Linked DNA regions of Homo sapiens: region 1 is linked to region 2. Evidence: promoter capture Hi-C in human tissues and cell types (Jung and others, 2019). All regions are on one chromosome and are shown on one strand. Each heading gives the region's core, a stretch centred on a gene start or on the middle of the fragment in contact. The rest is flanking DNA. Distances are from core to core; before and after follow the strand shown. Region 1 has its middle 55 kb from the start of A4GALT. Region 2 holds the start of PACSIN2 (protein kinase C and casein kinase substrate in neurons 2).

Region 1 (2,829 bases), core at 99-2,598, 240 kb after region 2:
TTCCCCTCCCTGGCACCGCTGGGCCTGCAGGTCTCTGTCGAGCCGCGGACGCGGGTCTCTGTTCCGCTGGATGGGGTTTGTTAAAGTTGTTAAGAATAAGGCCTACTTTAACAGATACCAAGTGAAATTTAGAAGACGACGAGAGGGTAAAACTGATTACTATGCTCGGAAACGCTTGGTGATACAGGATAAAAATAAATACAACACACCCAAGTATAGGATGATTGTTCGTGTAACTGACAGAGATATCATTTGTCAGATTGCTTATGCCCGTATAGAGGGGGATATGATAGTCTGCGCGGCATATGCACACGAACTGCCAAAATACGGTGTGAAGGTTGGCCCGACAAATTATGCTGCTGCATATTGTACTGGCCTGCTGCTGGCCCGCAGGCTTCTTGATAGGTTTGGCATGGACAAGATCTATGACGGCCAAGTGGAGGTGACTGGCGATAAATACAATGTGGAAAGTACTGATGGTCAGCCAGGTGCCTTCACCTGCTGTATGGATGCAGGTCTTGCCAGAACTACCACTGGCAATAAAGTTTTTGGCGCCCTGAAGGGAGTTGTGGATGGAGGCTTGTCTGTCCCTCACAGCACCAAATGATTCCCTGGTTATGATTCTGAAAGCAAGGAATTTAATGCAGGAGTACACCAGAAGCACTTCATGGGCCAGAATGTTGCAGATTACATGCGCTACTTAATGGAAGAAGATGACGATGCTTACAAGAAACAGTTCTCTCAATACATAAAGAACAGCGTAACTCCAGACATGATGGAGGAGATGTATAAGAAAGCTCATGCTGCTATACGAGAGAATCCAGTCTATGAAAAGAAGCCCAAGAAAGAAGTTAAAAAGGAGAGGTGGAACCTTCCCAAAATGCCCCTTGCTCAGAAGAAGGATCAGGTAGCTCAAAAGAAGGCAAGCTTCCTCAGAGCTCAGGAGCGGGCTGCTGAGAGCTAAACCAAACAATTTTCTATGATGATTTTTCAGATACAGACAATAAACTTAGGGCCAGCAAAAAAAAAAAAAAAAAGCCAAGTAATTAACTTGAAGTCACATCATTTATGAGAAACAAGCTTGCCCTTAACTATAATTGGCATCGTAGTCAATGTATAAACCTTACGGAGAACATTATCCAGAAAACTGGGAGGTATAACATTCATCTTTTTTTTTTTTTTTTTGAGATAGAGTCTCGCACTGTCGCCTGGGCTGGAGTGCAGTGGCTCAATCTTGGCTCACTGCAACCTCCGTCTCCTGGGTTCAAGCGATTCTCCTGCCTCAACCTCCCAAGTAGCTGGGATTACAGGCACCCACCACCACACCCAGCTAATTTTTTGTATTTTTAGTAGAGACAGGGTTTCACCATGTTGGCCAGGCTGAGCTCGAACTCCTGACCTTGTGATTCGCCTGCCTCGGCCTCCCAAAGTGCTGGGATTACAGGTGTGAGCCACCGCGCCTGGCCTATAACATTAGTCTTTATAACAATTCCACTACATTTAAATGATACAGGAAGTTGAATGCATTGCATCAAAATCAAGGTACTGGGCCAGGTGTGGTGGCTCACGCCAGTAATCTCAATACTTTGGGAGGCCAAGGCAGGTGGATCACTTGAGGTCAGGAGTTCGAGACCATCCTGGCCAACATGGCAAAACCCAGTCTCTACTAAAAACACAAAAATTAGCCGGGCATGGTGGCATGTGCCTGTAGTCCCAGCTACTTGGGAGGCTGAGGCAGGAGAATTGCTTGAACTCAGGAGGCGGAGGTTGCAGTGAGCCAATATCGCACCACTGCACTCCAGCCTGGGGGACAGAGTAGACTCTGTCTCAAAAAATAATGATAAAATAAAAATAAAAATAAACAAATGGTACAGGAAGTGGAATGCATTGCAGCAAAGTCAAGGTACTGGGCCGGGCACAGGGGCTCACGCCTGTAATCCCAGCCTTTGCCTGAGTTCTTGTCCTGTGTCCAGGAAGAATGAGGTACACAGACAAGTGGAGGGTGAGCAAGACAAAGAAAAGCTCTACTGAATCTTAGGACAGCTCAGAGGAGACCCGCAGTGGGCAGCTCCTCTCTGTAAGCAGGTCATCTCCTCCAGTGTTCAGCTCTCCATAGGGAGGAGGCCCTGGAGGCCCTGGAGTGGGTGGCTCCACTCTGCAGGCAGGTCCCTGTTGACTTCCCAGCTCTCAGTAGAGAAGGTAGCTCCTCTCTGCAGCTGGTCATCCAGTCTCCAGTTGTTTCTCCATCCTCTGCCTTGCTCTGGCTGAGACTGGGGTGTTTACGGACCTCAGAGAGGAGGAAATGCATGCCAGTTGGTGCATGGGCACCCAGAAGAGGTACCACAGGTCCCCACTCTGGTCTGTGGATCTGGCAGCCCAGCCTTCAGCCTTCAGGCCCTCCCTGGTCTGAAAGTGGGGTCTTATCGGGTATCCCCGGCTTCTGCCCAGGAATCCGCCTCCCACTGCCATTCATGGCCCCTGCTCAGCCCAGCTTTACTCTGAGATCAGAGTGGGTGTTGACAGCCAACAGTAGGGAGAAGCCAGGCAGTGGGGGCAGGTACTTTTGAGCCTGTGAGGGCGGGGAGGGGGGGCCTTCCCAGGCCCCCAAGAGTGGAGGGATGCCTGAAGCTGCAGCCACCAGTTTGGGTGGCTGCAGGTGCGTCCAGAGGAGGCAGGGCTCCTGGCTATTCTGTGGAGCAGGAGGCCCGGGTCTGCAGCCACAGTTTGGGTGGCTGCAGTGGCACCCAGGAGAACAGGGCTCCTACCTGCTTGCCCCGCAAGAGCACAGGAAGGCTCAGATCTGCAGCCACAACTTGGGTGGCTGCAGAA
Region 2 (3,133 bases), core at 473-2,972:
ACAAGGCTCTATATTTTTATAGGGCATGGAATTGCGATGTAAGCGGAACTTACCCAGATATGAAAGTGCTGAGAGCTGATGGCTGAGTTCTATCTATACAAATGGTCCACAGGTATTGTGGGTGGCAAAGAGGTCCCTGTTGGCTCAGTCCTGGAGAATGAGGAGAGACTTCTTGGCAGTGGTTTGTCCTGGCACTGTGTGTTGGTTTTTTTTTTTTTTTTTTGAGATGGAGTCTCGCACTGTCGCCAGGGCTGGAGTACAGTGGCGTGATCTTGGCTCACTGCAACCTCCGCCTCCCAGGTTCAAGTGATTCTCCTGCCTCAGACTCCCAAGTAGCTGGGATTACAGGTGCATGCCACCACACCCAGCTAATTTTTTGTATTTTTAGCAGAGACAGGCTTTCACTGTGTTGGCCAGGCTGGTCTCAAACTCCTGACCTTGTGATCTGCCCGCCTCGGCCTCCCAGAGTACTGGGATTCCAGGCGTGAGCCACCGTGCCTAGCCGGTTCTTTTGTTTCTTTCTCAATTATTGTCATAAGGACAATGCCACAGAGCAGTCTAGAAAGTAAACAACCACTAGATTTCTTTGTGGACTCTTTTCTCATACCTATCTATATGTAGCAGCAATTCTACAGTTTCTACCATTTTGTATCTAGCTTTTTCTTTTATTATTATTTTCTTTTATTTTACTTTTTAGAGAACTGGGTCTTGCTATGTGGCCCAGGTTGGCCTCAAACTCCTGGGCTGAAGCGATTCTCCTGCCTCGGCGTCCCAAGAAGCTGGGATTCCAGGTGCATGTCACCATGCCTGGCTCTATCTGGCTTTTTCTTTTAACGTTTTAGTTTAAGCATTTTCCCATAGTGCTACACAGTCATCATTATTATTCTCAAGGGTTGGGCTGACCTGGGTTTCTAATCCTGGCTCTGCCATTTACTCTCTTTACTCCACATCACCCCCAGCAAGTTACCTGGCTCACCCCTCACCTGGGGTTCCTCTCACCATCCTCTCCACCTGGATGACATGAAGCAGTGCTTGGACAGCGCGTAGGACAGTGCTCAGGAAGTGCTCTCCATTTTCCTTCAAGAGTATTTCCCTCTGCAGAACGGGGCTAATACCCTATCATGCAAGGTGATTGTGAGAATTGGAAAGAATGCGTGTGCATTGCCTGGTGCCTTGCCATCCAAATATATTTTATTAGAGAGAGCAGCAACATACGCCCCCCCAACCCCCCGTTTAAACTAAGCGGGTCCACGTGGAATGACGCTTTTGGCGCAAGTCGGAGGAGCTCCTAACGACATTAGCTTCTTTGAGTCCCTTGGGAGAGGAAACTTTCTGAAAGACTGTAGGATTACCTTCCCTGAACTTCCGGTCAGGTGCGGTGCTGCCCTGCCGCGCCCTCTTACCCCTGGATGCCGACGAAACCGCAAAACTCCAGCCCCGGGAAGCGCGTCTCAAGGACCACCACCAGCGAGCGGCTTTGGGAGAGTAATCTGCGCCACCCTCGCAGCCCATTAAATAGGCACTCCCCGTTTGATTGACAGGAGAAGTCACCAATGCGCGTCCTGGGGCTTTCCCTCGTCCTCACGCGGGGTGAGCCGCCTCTCTACTCATCTGGCCCAATCGGGGGCGCCGGGGAGGCTGTGGGGCGGGGCTCGGTGTCCGGTAGCCAATGGACAGAGCCCAGCGGGAGCGGCGGGGGCGGTGCGGTCGCGGCTGGCGGCAGAAGCGGCCGCAGGGGTCTGGGCAGGGCTGGGCAGTGCTGCCGGAGCAAAAGCGGTAGCGGGAGCCCGGCCGGAGCTGGGTCTGGAGACGCCGTGGCAGCCTGAACGGAGTGTGCGACGGATTGGGAGGTGAGTGGCCGCCGAGGTCAGGGGTCGCCGCGACGGTTGGGGCGCCGCGGGCGGGACGCGGGGGCGCTGGTCCGCGGCCGGGCCCGCGCCCCGTCAGGGCCGCCGCGCCGAGCTCCGCGCCCTGAGGGAAGCGGGTCGGGCCGCGCGGAACTTCCTGTCTCTGTGGGAGGGGGCGAGTGCTCGGGGCCCCGGGGGGCGCCTGGAGAAGACATCTTGGGGAGGACGAGGGCGAGTGGGGTCGGCTCGGGGAAGGGGCGGGGGCCCATGGGGGCGGCGCTGTGGGAGCGGGGCAGTTTTCCGGGGTCCGGGGCCTGCTGGAGAGGGAAGTGCAGGAGCAGGGCCGTCGGGGGTTAAGAGCTGCTAATGAGTGGGGGAGGTGTAGACAGCTGCAGAAGGGGGAGCTGGGGCGACTTTTGGAGGGACGCGATTTAGGAGAAAGCTGGGAATCCGAGACGTGCAGAGGTTAGGCGAGGGTGCCGGAGCAACGCTGGAGGGAAGGCGTGGCTGGGACGCGCCGGTGAGAGGGCAGGGCTTAGTCCTGGGGTGGCCTGGGGGGCGACGCAGGACACACGCGGGTGCGCTGATTTCGGGCGCTTTGATGAGCGGCCTCCATTTCCTTCCTTCCCACCCTCCGTGTCCCGGGGGGGGGGGGGTGGTGTGTGTGTGTCTGTGTGTGTGTGTGTGTGTGTGTGTGTGTGTAGGGCGGGGGGAGCAAAGCCCTTACCGCAGCACGTCCTAGGGCTGGGGCCAAGCAGGAGAGGCCGGGGAGGTTTGCCCTTGTGACCCTCCTCAGAGTTTCCCCAGACTCACTGAATCAGAAATCCGAACTCCTTACTCCTCTAGGGCTTTCAAGCCTGGCCAGGCATCCTGAGAGGTCCGCAATTGGAGAGGTAGTGATTGCTGCTGCTGTTGAATTTCATTGATTCATTGGGTTTCGGCTCCATCAGAGAAGGTCGATTTTCTTTTCAGAAGGAGTTGGTTGGTCAGGGGAGCAAGCTGTGCTATTGCTTTGGGGCCCACACGGCTGCAGCCTTTGACGTATAACAGGACCTGGGGATGCCACTCTTGGCTTGGGTGCCTGAGGGAAGGTGGCCTTTGGCTGGGTGTGTGCACCATTCCTGGATCCTGTCTTCTCTTTTTCCCTCCGCCTGTCCGGTGTTTTTGTGGTTAAGGGGGTAGGCTGCTCAGAGTCTCCAGGGCTACTTGGTACACTGTTTACCAAATACTGCCTGGCTGTCTTGATGAAAATCAGGAAACCAGCTCAAAGAGTTTGAACCTCAGCT

Evidence for each region. The method cuts DNA at HindIII sites, captures the fragments that hold promoters and counts their contacts. A contact is called where the count stands out against the background at its distance.
Region 1: a fragment that was not itself captured here is called in contact with the fragment with the promoter of PACSIN2 in region 2 in 2 of the 25 tissues and cell types used here (IMR-90 fibroblasts and aorta).

What each region holds. Positions count from the first base shown.
Region 1 is chr22:42,774,538-42,777,366 of GRCh38, reverse strand. It overlaps the pseudogene RPL5P34. Among named protein-coding and RNA genes, the nearest start is that of A4GALT, 55 kb to the right of the region's middle. The HindIII fragment of the contact is 4,216 bases long and covers 1-2,829 here.
Region 2 is chr22:43,013,738-43,016,870 of GRCh38, reverse strand. PACSIN2 (protein kinase C and casein kinase substrate in neurons 2) reads left to right here and starts at 1,722. Exons shown (of 11, transcript NM_001184970.3): 1 at 1,722-1,850. RefSeq lists enhancers at 1,235-1,434, 1,417-2,120 and silencers at 1,555-1,744, 1,755-1,804, 1,925-1,994. The HindIII fragment of the contact is 29,159 bases long and covers 1-3,133 here.